Linked DNA regions of Homo sapiens: all the other regions are linked to region 4. Evidence: promoter capture Hi-C in human tissues and cell types (Jung and others, 2019). All regions are on one chromosome and are shown on one strand. The core of a region is centred on a gene start or on the middle of the fragment in contact, and the rest is flanking DNA. Distances in the headings are between cores, read along the strand shown. Region 1 overlaps NOL8 (nucleolar protein 8). Region 2 holds the start of OMD (osteomodulin). Region 3 overlaps IARS1 (isoleucyl-tRNA synthetase 1). Region 4 holds the start of BICD2 (BICD cargo adaptor 2).

Region 1 (3,134 bases), core at 296-2,795, 460 kb after region 4:
CATAATACTTGTTATTGAATCAAAGACTGAAACAACTATCCACTAATATCTTATATTGTCAGATATACCATTACCATTTTTCACTCTTTATCATTTTTAGATTTACGTAATTTAGATTATGTTTAGAATGTTAAAAAAATCAAAGAGTCTATAATCACTGTAGTTATTAGTATCTTGCTCTATTACATTTGTCGATCTTTACCTTAAAAGTTTTAGACTTGCTACTGAAAGCCATTAAATTCAGACTTTCATAATTAGGAACAGAAGTAGGACTTTTCATTGTCTGGTCACGCAGACTTTCTGAGTTTGCTATGACTGAGGGTCTTTGGTTATGGAGGTTAGTGAAATGAGGTTAAAGTTTCTTCTTCCTGTCTTAATGGATTTTGAACATGTTTAGGTACTTGGTAAATATTTGATGATTGAGACTTCTCAGGCTGTGTTTTCCAAGAGAGTATTAATTATCCCTTTTCCTCAAAGAGGTAAATGAAAAGAAAACTGCTGAGGAAGAAGAGCTTGCTGAAGAAAAAAAGAAAGCCCTGAATGTTGTACAAAGTGTTTTGCAAATCAACTTAAGCAATTCTACAAACAGAGGATCAGTAGCTGCTAAGAAATTTAAGTATGTTTTATGTTCCATCCCATTCTACCATATCATCCTTTGCCATAAATGTCTTCTTGAACTCAATTTAAAACTAGGTCTCTTTTAATGGCCTGGGGAGGCAGCTGGCAATATGTATCAGACCCTTAAAAATATACTTGCCTTTGACCCAGTGATTCACTTCAAGGAACTAATCTTAAATTATTTCTGTATTTATACACTTAGATGTCATAGCAGCATCGCTTTCATTAGTGAAACAAATGGGAAACAGTTTAAATAGTAACTGTAAAAGTATTTATATAAACGTAACTGTTATGGAAATTTTCAGGCATGAAATTTAGAGAGACTAATGAAAGCCCTGTATACCATCATTACCTGTACACCAGGTAATGAAAGCCCTGTACACCATCACCTAGCTTTTACAGTCACCAACATGTGACCAGTGTTCTCTTCTATACCTTTATCCAACCCCTACTTTACACAATGAAATGTTTTATGCAAATCCCAGATAGTATATCATTTTATCTGTATGTATTTTAGTATGTTTAAAATCATTTTAAAAGCTAAAAAAATCCAGGAAATCTCAAAAGTAGGTAGTTTAAAATATTTTTTCGGCTGGGCATGGTGGCTCACACCTGTGATCCTAGCACTTTGGGAGGCTAAGGTGGGCGGATCACCTGAGATCAGGAGTTGGAGAGCAGCCTGGCCAACATGGTGAAACCCCGTCTCTACTAAAAATATAAAAATTAGCCGGGCATGGTGGCACATGCCTGTAATCCCAGCTACTTGGGAGGCTGAGGCAGGAGAATCGCTTGAACTTGGGAGGCGGAGGTTGCAGTGAGCCAAGATCACGCCATTGCACTCCAGCCTGGGCAACACAGCGAGACTCTGTCTCCAAGAAAAATCTATGTATATGTTATTTCTAGTAAGATCCTAGTTATCTTATCTGATGTTATATGGCTTCTTCTTGCTGCAAAATTAGAATCTTCCTAGTGCTGAATTATAATTTGCTACTTACTTTTTGTATTAGTGTTCTGTTTTTATCTCTTCCAACCTCCCTTCCTTTTTTTACATAGGGACATCATACATTATGATCCAACGAAGCAAGACCATGCCACTTACGAAAGAAAAAGAGATGATAAGCCAAAAGAAAGGTAAGTAGAGCTACTTCTTTTAGCAATAGGATCATGTAAATTAATCTCATTTCAGACAATTAAAAATGTAGGTAGGAACCAATATCCTACTCATTGGTCCCACTGTATTAAGATTGGTGGGGTAGGGGTAGTGCAGGTAGAGTTAGAAAGGAATTATTGATGTGGTGGAGGAGGTCTTACCTTTTAACAGAGGAATCTATAAATGATATGTACTCCTATCATTTATACCTTTTATTTGTATAAATGATGCCTTTTATTTGTACTAGTTTCTTGTGTCTTCTGTAGCTACCACAAACTTAGTTACTTAAAATCACAAAAATTATTTCTTTACAGTTCTGGAACCTAGAAGTCCCAAATTAAGATAGTGAACAGGTTATGTTCCTTCTAGAGGTTCAGGGAAACAAAGCTGTTTTATGCCTCTCCTAGTTTCTAGTGACTGCCACCAATCCTTTGGTGTTCCTTGGCTTGAGACTACATTACTCCCATTTCTGCCTCTATCTTCACATGGCCTCTTCTTTTCTGTCTCTCCTCTTTGTGCCTCTTATAAGGACACTTGTGATAGCATTCAGGGCCCACTTGGATAATCCTGGATGGGCTCCTCATCCTAGGACCCTTAACTTAATATCTCTGCAAGACCCCTTATCTAAATAATGTTAACATTCACAGGTTTCAGGAATTAGGACATGGACATAGCTTTTGGGGGGCAACCATTCAACCATCTAGTGTGGTAGGAGCTTCTGTTTCCTATAGATGTGCAGTCAGTTGGATAAACATGGCAAATATATGGAGCAACCAGTAGCAGCTTGGTTTAAATCCTTCATTTTCCAACTGCTAATAGCCACGAAAATCACAAAAGGCAGTGTGGTATCCTGAATTGAATCTTGAAACAACAGGACAATTTGTGGAGAAACTAGTGAAATCAAAACAATGTCTGAGTTTAGTTAGTGGTAATCTACCAATGTTAATCTTCTAATTTTGACAATTATATCCTAGTTACATACACACATAATTACATTAGGGAAAACAAAGTGAAGGCTATTTAGGAACTCTACTATTTTCGTTACTTTCTGTAAACCTAAAATTGTTCCAAAATTATTCTTTTAAAAAGAATCACATTTTAGACTAAAGTAGAATATTAATATTCCCTCCAATGTAGGATATATGTGTGTTATTTCAGATAATCCGTATTGAACAAATAGGATATGTTTACCCCCTCCCTATACCCCTAAGAAGTCTCATCCCTTTACATCAGCTCAAAATCCAGGATGTCATCATTCAGATCAGATCTAAGTACAGATGAGGCTTCTCTGTTATTCCTTGAGTACAGTACCTTGAGTGCAGTTCTGTTTGATAAGACCTATGAACTAAAAAAGCAAGTTATCTAC
Region 2 (2,983 bases), core at 408-2,907, 340 kb after region 4:
CCCTTGCCACCTTAAACCTCCTAGATAGACACTGCCAATCAGTTTAAATTTTCTAGACATTTTTATTCTGTCTGCTCTAGTTATCTACTGATTTTTCTTTCACACTTGTTAAAAACATGAATAACATAATCAATATCATAAATCCAAATCACAGAGTTAATGAGAAGTTATATAAACATTAGGCTGTTGATTTTCAGTTAATCTTCCAAAAGGACTGTGAAGGCCTATAAAACAATTTTTTGAAAAAGTACACAGATTTGCTCTCTCTTCCTTAGTGAAAGCCTGAGTTTTAAGAACAAAGACACTAACAGAAAACATATGGAAAAGATCAGTAACAAGATGGAATCTTGGCTAAAGTGTGGTCTGCCACGTTTTTCATACCAATGTCTCAAATAATAGACTAGATTTTTACAACTGCCAAAGCATCACTTGAAACACTGTATACTTTTCTTAATGCAAAGTTTAACAAAATAAATCTTGTGAGTTCTTTGTAAAAAGCTAATGGAAAACACTTTTTTGAGGAAACAAAATGAACTCCAGGATTCACTTTATCTTATTAGTTTGTAAAAGCTTAAAAGAATTCCCCCCCAAAATGAACTCCGAATCTACTGCCAAAAGACACAAGTCAACTCTCTGTTTAGAATATGAGAACAGTGTAAAAATTAAACATTAAAAACAGTTAACTGTTACTATTCAGGAGAGATAGCTCTATGAAATGAAGAAATTTTCTAAATCTACAAAATAAAGGCAATAGCTATTGAGTAACATAAGCTTTTCATCCCATTTTATTCAATACTACAGAATTATTTTGTGCAATAGTAAAAACAGGCAAATTGAAGATACACCTTTGGAGTGCAACCAACTGACTAATTTTATCTGAAAGGATATTAGAAGTCATTCTAGTGGGTACATCTGCCAAAAAGAGGAGAAATGAGATAGCTGATAAAAATGATGATAAAAATGAAGATGTAAGCCTTTGTATAGAAAAGTCGTATAGTTAATCTGTGTAAGCAATGACAATCAAGTGCATTTTAAAAATAAACAATGCGAAATGTTATGTTTCTAATCCTGATTTCTTGTTTTAACAAATAGAAGTACTGATATGAACCTAGGTGTTGAATAACCAAGGGACTCAAGAAATTTTGAGTTCCAGGCCAGGCGTGGTGGCTCATGCCTGTAATCCCAGCAATTTGGGAGGTGGAGGCGGGAGGATCACCTGAGGTCAGGAGTTCAAGACCAGCCTGGCCAACATGGTGAAACCCCATCTCTACTAAAAATACAAGAAATTAGCCAGGCATGGTGGCTCATGCCTGTAATCCCAGCTACTTGGGAGGCTGAGACAGGAGAATTGCTTGAACCCGGGAGGTGGAGGTTGTGGTGAGCCGAGGTTGCACCACTATACTCTGGCCTGGGCAGCAAAGCAAGACTCCATCTCAAAAAATTAAAAAAGAAATTTTGAGTTCCACCTTAAGTTGCTGAGACTCTGGAGTTCCCTGTCACAGTGGGCCTTAATTTGAAGAATTCTTTGGCATGAAAATGAAAATAAAAACAGTAATCAGTACATGCTGTTTCATTTAGTTTTGTTTGCCTTTCACATTAGAGGAAATTCTTGCCACACCTCAAACCAAAATTAAGGGGAAAAGAAAGAAGTAAGCCACATAAATCTGACCAAGAACACAAGCATCTTAATTTGAATCCACAAAGTTTCATGTAATGAAAAGAAATACATAATTTTAATTCAACCCGAGTGTTTTCCAAGAAGATTGTATTTGCTTAAATTGCTACAGTAATTCAAGAGACAGCCCTGTCTGGACACAGAGTTACTGTGGATTTTTAAGAGACTCAGTTAAAGAATTTAGGAATTTCTGATTCATTTAAAGGATTTACAAATTCATCAACCCCTGAAAACTAAAGCAAATTGAACAGGTATGATAATAAAATAATTTTCAATTTTTTAAGAATGTATTCCTACTGTTAAAATTTAAAAGTATATTGGATTTTTTAATATTAAAATAGACTGCATCTATTACAAAAGCACAATTTTTGGAAGCAAAATCTGGTAAAAAAGTTATGTTAAACTTTTGATTAGGCAAAATGTTCAAATAAAGTAGTATAATGAGTTTAACTTTCTCATTTAAGATTTACCCAATAAAAAATCTTTGTTTAGATTTTTTTTTACTTTGAATGAAAGGAAAGATTCTCAGGTTAAAGGAATCAATCTCTTTCTCTTCCTTAGGTCTCTTTTTTTCTATGAATTATAAGTAACAAAGAACCAGCTAATGCCTTTGAGGCATACAGCTGAGCAATGCTAGTGATTCCGGTTGGGGGGTTGATGGGCATTTGTACAAATTTCACTCAAGATTTTCTCCAAATTTCTCTACTGACTAAATCCCTGATATAGAATGTTTTTCTTTTCATTTACTTCTTTCTCAAAGGGAAAATACAGATGCTCTATCTAGTCTATTGAAGGATCTAGTTACTTTGGGTTTTAGTTAATTACGATTTAAATGTATTATGGCTAAAAATAATTGAGGTAATTGTATTTTTAATAGCAAAAAAATTTTATAAAATTAAAATTTAGAACTTTTTTGGAAAAATCTAAATTATATGCTAATATTTGCTTTCTTATATGCTAGTTTCTATGTCATACAAATAAAAACAATTATGTCTTTAACATAATAAAATGTTGAGGATTTTACTTTAAACTTTTCCTGAACAAGTAAATTATACCTCATTAGTAATTTCAATTGAAACTTTTCTTGATGAACACGAGTGCTTTTCTCCAAGTAAGAGAAATATTATGACACAGATGGTTTTATTGCTATAATATGAAAAATTCACATTGAAAACTGGTAATATATATATATTACTTTGCTCCAAACATTCTTTTTCACATTTGTTCTTTTCCTGCTACACGATGTACTAGGAAAGTGAGGAATACAGTATATTGTGATGAAGAAATATTCAATAGAAAAAGGAACAG
Region 3 (3,346 bases), core at 58-2,557, 480 kb after region 4:
TGCACTCCAGCCTGGGTGACAGAGTTAGACTCTGTCTCAAAAAAAAAAAATATATATATATATATATATATGTGTGTGTATGTATATATGTAAGTATACATATATATGTATTGGCTTAAAACTTTTATTTATTTATTTTTAGAGAAGGGATTTCAGTCTGTCACCTAGGCTGGAATGCAATGGTGCAAACACAGCTCACTGCAGCCTTGACCTCCTGGGTTCAAGTGATCCTCCAGCCTCACCCTCCTGAGCAGCTGAGACCACAGATGTGCATCACCATGCCCAGAAAATTTTTTTATCTTTGTAGAGATGGGATCTCACCATATTGCCCCAGCTGGTCTCAAACTCCAGAGCTTGTGCGATCCTCCTGCCTTGGCCTCCCAAAGTGCCAGGATTATAGGCATGAGCCACCGTGCTAAAAAATTTTAATTTTTTACAAAAATTAGCTGGGCATGGTGGTGCACACCTGTAGTCCCAGCTATTCAGGAAACCGAGGCAGGAGAATGCTTGAACCTGGGAGGTGGGGGTTGCAGTGAGCTGAGATCACGTCACTGCACTCCAGCTTGGGTGACAGAGTGAGATTCCATCTCAAAAAAAAAAGAAAAGAAAAAAATTAATTTTGATGTAGTTTCAAACTCACAGAAAAGCGGAGAGTTCTTTATATCCTTCAACTAGATTCCCTAAATGTTAACCTTTTACCACATTTGCTTTATCCTTCTCTCTTTTTATGGGAGTGGGGCACAGTACCCTTTGAGAGTAAGTTGCAGGAATTATGGCCCTTTTCCTCTAAAAACTATATATTTCCTAAAATCAGTAACATTGTTTGAAATAACTGGAGTTAGAAAATTAACATTGATGCTGTATTACCTCATGTGTAGATCTTATTGGGTTCTGCTTGTCCCAGCAGTGTCCTTTATAGTTAACAAGAAAAAAAGAAGGAAAGAAAAACAAAAAAGACCTACATTGTGTGCTTCATGCAGTGGTATGTCTCCAGCCTTCTTTAATCTTAAAGAGCTCTTTAGTCTCTTTATGCCTCATAATACTGACATATTTGAGGAGGTACAGGCCAATAGTAGTGTCTCTTATTTCAAGTTTGTCTGATGTTTTACATGTGACTAATGGCTCTCGTGTCACTTTATTTAAATTGCAGTTGGTTTTTGTTGGGGATTGATTTTTTTTTTCCTACCTTAGAGCTATTTATTTTTAAATCCTTGATATTTTTGTGTTGAAACATTTCCGTAAAGTTGGAGACAATCTTGTTCTTATTTAATGAGCTGAATTTATATGGGTCTGTTACAATTTCAAGTATGTGTTGCTTCAGTAGGATCTTTTTGGTATTTTGGGCAAAAAGATAACCATATTCCAGAACAGTTATCTTTTTGATCTAACTCTTGATGGACTTACAAAATAGATAATCATAATACTGAAACCTCCATCATATGTTCCTACTTAGACATTACTTTAAAAAGTTACCAGAGGCCAGGCATGGTGACTCACGCCTGTAATCCCAGCACTTTGGGAGGCTGAGGTGGGAGGATCACCTGCGGTCAGGAGTTTGAGACCAGCCTAACCAACATGGAATAACCCCATCTCTACTAAAAATACAAAAATTAGCCACGTGTGGTGACACGCACCTATAATCCCAGCTACTCGGGAGGCTGAGGCACAAGAATCACTTGAACCCAGGAGGCAGGGGCTGCAGTGAGCCAAGATTGTACCACAGCACTCCAGCCTAGTGACACAGTGAGACTCCATCTAAAAAAAAAAAAAAAAAAGTCACCAGGTGTCAAAAGACATTATTTTTGAGACTACTAAGGTGATGATTAAAACATTTTTTAAAGTATTTAAAAATTTTTTTACTTGGAATTTCTTGCTATTTTCTGTTTGTAAGTCTGGTAAGTGGTTTCTTCGGTTTACCCTGAAGATTTATTTTATTCCTCTTTAGGAGTAGTTCCTTTTTCTTAGGTGTCTGTTATTGTGGATTTCTAAAACAATACTTTACCTCAATTTATTTCAGGATGTTCAAGATCCTTCAGTATTTGTAACTTTCCCTTTGGAAGAAGATGAAACTGTATCTTTAGTTGCTTGGACAACCACTCCCTGGACTCTACCTAGTAACCTTGCTGTGTGTGTTAATCCAGAAATGCAATATGTGAAAATTAAAGGTAAGTGGGAGGCTGGTTACTTATGATTAATATGGATAAGATAATTTTATATTTTGGAAAATATGAAAGCTTACCTTTCTTTTTGCATGAAGAATAGAATTATTTGAAAACAATCTGACTTAATTAGAAAAATAACTTTAAACATTTGTTTTCATTTCTAATTGAAAACTAACAAAACAATTAAAATAGTACAGAGATATAAAAAGTAGAACATAAAATTTTCTTATAATTTCCAGTTTATAGTACATTTTTCCACACCATGCCCCTGTGACAGATGAAGAATCTAAGATTCAGCGATGTGGCATCACGTCGTTACTAGCAATTGATACCAGAACTTGAGAACTTTTTGCCTTTCAAATGTCCCCTGGTAGAGAGTTACCAGTCTCAACGAGGGCCTTTCCGAGATTTAAAAAGAAGATTGGTACTTTGTGAACAAATATACCTTCAGGTTTGGTAGTTTTGTGGCGGTAAAAGAAAAAGAGAAAAACTCATTGCCATGAAAAAAGCTATGGCACAGCTGCTGTGGAAGGCAGTGACATTTCTTCAAAAAGCTGAATGAGATGACACTATGGCCCAGCAATTTCACTTCTGAGTGTTTTCCCCAAAGAATTGAAAGCAGTCTTGAACAGTTACTTGTACACCCGTGTTCATAGGAGCATTATTCACAGTAGTCAAAAGATAGAAGCAACCCAAGTGTCTATCATTGGATAAATGAATAAACCAAATAGGGTATTTACGTACAGTGGAATATTATTCAGCCTAAAAAAGAAAGGAAATTCTGATACAGGCTATGCCTTGAATGAACCTGGAGGACATTATGCTAATTAAAATGAGCCAGTCACCAAAAGACAGATACTACATGATTCTATTTATATGAGGTATCGAGAAGTGAACTTCAGAGAGCAAAGACTAGTAGAATGGTGGTTGACAGAGGCTGGGAGGGAAGGGGGAGTTATTGTTTAATGAGTACAGAGTTTCAGTATAGGAAAATGAAAAGGTTTAGGGTATTGATAATGGTAATGATTACACAACATTGTAGATGTATTTAATTCTGTGTAAGAATGGTTACCATGATTTTTAAAAATAGTTGTATTAAAACAGTCAACTTGATTGAACAATAGCTTGTGTTGGCAAGGGAAAAATATTGAGAAAGGAATGGGGAAAGATTGGGTGCCAGAAAA
Region 4 (3,342 bases), core at 428-2,927:
TGCAAAGTCTTCACTCATGACACTAATTACCAAAGAAAAACCCAGCATCAATCAGAGAAATGCAAATCGACATCACATACCTCCCGGCTGGTGCTCTGAAAACTCAGCAACACCTCAGTGACAGTCCTGCCAGAAACGCATCACCTCATCACCCCATGAGCATATACCAGTGTGCACTGCACTCCTCAGAAAGGTCAATCAAAGGAGACTCAGGAAACCTGACGACTGAATGCAACTGGATCCTGGACCACAAAAACAATACTGAAACTCTCCAGTATGGTGTTGGGCCCTCGTGCAATTAGAGTGTGGACTGTGCATTAGATAGTGTCAGTACCCTGTGTGCTGTGATTTCTGCTGTCATGGCTTCTTTCTAATTTGGTCTTGAGGGAGAGTGACCATAAGCCAAGATAGCCACTCTCTAGGAGAACCGAATGGGTGTGGGGTTCAGGTGAGATACAATGAGAAAGTAAAATTAAAAGGTACAAAACAGAAGGAATTTATTATTCTTAGGTTCCGGAGAGGTTAGGGATGCCTAAGAGAGGCGGACAAGCAGATGGAGAGGGGCAGTGAGAGACGGTGGGAAGGAAGGGACTATGGCTGTGCTAGGGTCCATGGAAATCATCCTTTAGGATTTCCCTTGGGGCCTGTGGACTGGCTAAAGAAAATACGAGGGAAGGGTGAACTCATCTGCACTGATACTGGCCATTAGGTGCTATGGCGGTCAGCGGCTGTGGGGTGTGTTGCGCTTTAGGTCAATGAGATAAAGAATAAACGAGTTATCTCACACACCACCATATACGGAGAAGTGTTACCTACGCCAAGGCGAAGGGTACGACTGGCTTTCAAACAACTTAAGTCAGGCCTAAAAATAGATGCGGAGACAACAATTATATTTACCACGTTTATGACCCTGTATTAATGGAAATGTCTTTATTCCCAAGAAATAGACCTTGAAGGACTGAGGGGCGGTGCTGAGGTTCCCGCTGGCCCCTGGGCGCCCCCTGCTGGCCCGTCCTCCTCCCGCCCCCAGACGTCTGCACAGAGCATGCGTCACACCGTCCACGGGTTTCCAGCAGCAGCCGTTCACCCGCGCTCTCGGATGCGCTTCTAGCTCGTGGCCTCCCGGGCTCTGTCCGCGTTGTTCGTCCCACGGTCGGGAGCCCAGTCCTGCCGCCCCGCACCCGCCTCCCCCTGGGGGTTCTCCCGGCAGCCGTCTTGCCACCCCGCGTGGCCGCCGGCTGCCAGAGGCACAGGGGAGCGCGAGGCCCGGCGACCGAGCAGTGTCCCCGGCTCTGAGTGTGGGGAAGGCCGCGGGGCCGCGCCCACTCGACCGCCGTCCAGGGGACTGCAAGGCGCCGGTACATCCGGCTCGACGCTGGCGGCGCAGGCCAATCACGGACGGGGACGGGTGGGCGCGGGGCTGGACGGGTTTTGTAGTCGGTGCGCTAGCGGGACTACTGTCCCCACAGCCCCCTGGGCCACATTGGCGTCAGTGGCTGCGCCCGAGGGCCCGCCCCTCACAGAGCATGGGCCAATCATAGCCGGGGGCCGGGCGGGCGCCGGGCATGATGGACCTTGTGGTCGGAGCGCAGGCAGGACTCCAGCCCCCAGCGGGCCCCGCGCGCCGGAGGGGAGGAGCCGTGCGGCGGCGCGGGCGGGCGGGCGGCCGTCGGGGCAGGGCGGCGGCGGCGGCGGCAGCGGCGGCGGCTGAGGAGGGCCCGGCCTGCGAGAGCCTCAGTGGGAGCCGGCTCAGCCCTCGGCCACCATGTCGGCGCCGTCGGAGGAGGAGGAGTACGCGCGGCTGGTGATGGAGGCGCAGCCGGAGTGGCTGCGCGCCGAGGTGAAGCGGCTGTCCCACGAGCTGGCCGAGACCACGCGTGAGAAGATCCAGGCGGCCGAGTACGGGCTGGCGGTGCTCGAGGAGAAGCACCAGCTCAAGCTGCAGTTCGAGGAGCTCGAGGTGGACTATGAGGCTATCCGCAGCGAGATGGAGCAGCTCAAGGAGGTGAGCCGAGCCGCCCTGCCCTGCGACCCCCGCCCGGCGCCGGGGCCTGTGGGCGTCGTCCCTGGCACCAGGGCGGCCAAGGTCAGCTTGCCAAGCGGGGGCCGGCAGGGGTGGGCCGCCGGGGCGGAGGGGGCACGGGCAGTATGTGGGAGTGGGCCCGGCCTTGGCTAGCAGGCCGGTGCCGCGGCCGTTGCAGACGCCGCTAATGCAGGGGTCCGGGCGCCTTGTCGCCTCCTGCAGCTGCCCGCCTGCTTCTGTGCGGACCTGGGCGGCCCCGGCGGGGCGGGGCTTCGTAAGGGCTGATGCTTTGCGGTGGTCGCTGTTCCGGGTGTGTCTGAGTGTGGGGTGGGGTTGGGAGGGCAGTGGCTGAGCCGGGAGCTGAGGCCACGGATGCTGGTGACCCGCTGGGAGAGGCCGAGGGTGGGCCTGGGTCTGGGTGGCTGCGGCTCTGTCACCTTCAGAGAAAGCACTTCCCCTCTCTGGGCGCAGCTACTTTCGGAGCGTTTCTGCTTCTTTCATGAGTGCCTCCGAGGTGGGGAAAGGTCGTGGACAGCGGCCTAAGTGAGTAGGGGCTCGGGGTTGCACGTGGAGGTTGCCCCTGGCATGGGTCCCCCAGTACCCTTGCCCCAGGCCCAGCGCTGTGTCCTCATGGCCGGGATTGCGCTCCCACCAGCTAGCATGACTTCCCTGGCCCACTTCCTGTCCAGCCCCGCTTCTCGGGCCCTTCCCCTCGCTGTGGCTTGCTGTGTTCCTCTTGGACGGAGACCTCAGTGGTCTGTGTCATTCCCACTGGGGGGAGAGTAGGTTAGACCACCAGGCTGGTCGAGGGTCTCCAGGCGGCAGGGCAGCGGGAGTCTTGGACAGTCCTTCCCCAGCTTCTCTTCTCCCGTTCCCTGACTCCATAGCGTTGTTTGCAGGAATTGCTTTCTGGGAGGATACACCAGGGTTTGGATCCAGGCTGTGCCCCTTGCTAGTGATGTGGCTTTGGGTAGAGGCCCTCCGTGAGTCTTAGTTTCCCCCTCTGCAAAATGGGAGTGCAGTACTGCGTGCCCAGAAAGGATTGTTGTGAGGGTCATGTATTTGGAAAGGACTGGTGTGCGGTCAGGAGTATAGCTTGGTGGTGTGCTCCCTTCCCCCACTTGAGTGTGTCCTGGTGAGCCCTTGGCTCTTGGTTTCCAGGCTTATCACCTGGCACCTCTGCTCCCAGTCAGCCCAGACAGGTGCCTAAATCATTTGCAGCCTTCCTTGCCTCCCCCGTGTCTGAGGAGACCCGTCTGTGGAGAGCAGAGAATGAATCCAAGCAGATGCTTGGATGTCTGGGCAGAGCAGGTGCTCAG

Evidence for each region. The method cuts DNA at HindIII sites, captures the fragments that hold promoters and counts their contacts. A contact is called where the count stands out against the background at its distance.
Region 1: a contact is called between a fragment that was not itself captured here and the fragment with the promoter of BICD2 in region 4, in 1 of the 25 tissues and cell types used here (mesenchymal stem cells).
Region 2: a contact is called between the fragment with the promoter of OMD here and the fragment with the promoter of BICD2 in region 4, in 1 of the 25 tissues and cell types used here (lymphoblastoid cells).
Region 3: a fragment that was not itself captured here is called in contact with the fragment with the promoter of BICD2 in region 4 in 2 of the 25 tissues and cell types used here (dorsolateral prefrontal cortex and lymphoblastoid cells).

What each region holds. Positions count from the first base shown.
Region 1 is chr9:92,304,368-92,307,501 of GRCh38, reverse strand. NOL8 (nucleolar protein 8) reads left to right here. Exons shown (of 17, transcript NM_017948.6): 11 at 478-616; 12 at 1,672-1,749. Among named protein-coding and RNA genes, the nearest start is that of IARS1, 12 kb to the right of the region's middle. The HindIII fragment of the contact is 6,239 bases long and covers 1-3,134 here.
Region 2 is chr9:92,423,145-92,426,127 of GRCh38, reverse strand. It overlaps OMD (osteomodulin), which reads left to right and starts at 1,657. Exons shown (of 3, transcript NM_005014.3): 1 at 1,657-1,926. The region is part of intron 5 of CENPP (centromere protein P); the gene reads right to left. The HindIII fragment of the contact is 14,159 bases long and covers 1-2,983 here.
Region 3 is chr9:92,279,565-92,282,910 of GRCh38, reverse strand. It overlaps IARS1 (isoleucyl-tRNA synthetase 1), which reads left to right. Exons shown (of 34, transcript NM_002161.6): 7 at 2,018-2,165. Among named protein-coding and RNA genes, the nearest start is that of MIR3651, 11 kb to the left of the region's middle. The HindIII fragment of the contact is 9,461 bases long and covers 1-3,346 here.
Region 4 is chr9:92,763,168-92,766,509 of GRCh38, reverse strand. It overlaps BICD2 (BICD cargo adaptor 2), which reads left to right and starts at 1,677. Exons shown (of 7, transcript NM_001003800.2): 1 at 1,677-2,005. The coding sequence starts at 1,766. RefSeq lists silencers at 85-134, 987-1,726. The HindIII fragment of the contact is 19,809 bases long and covers 1-3,342 here.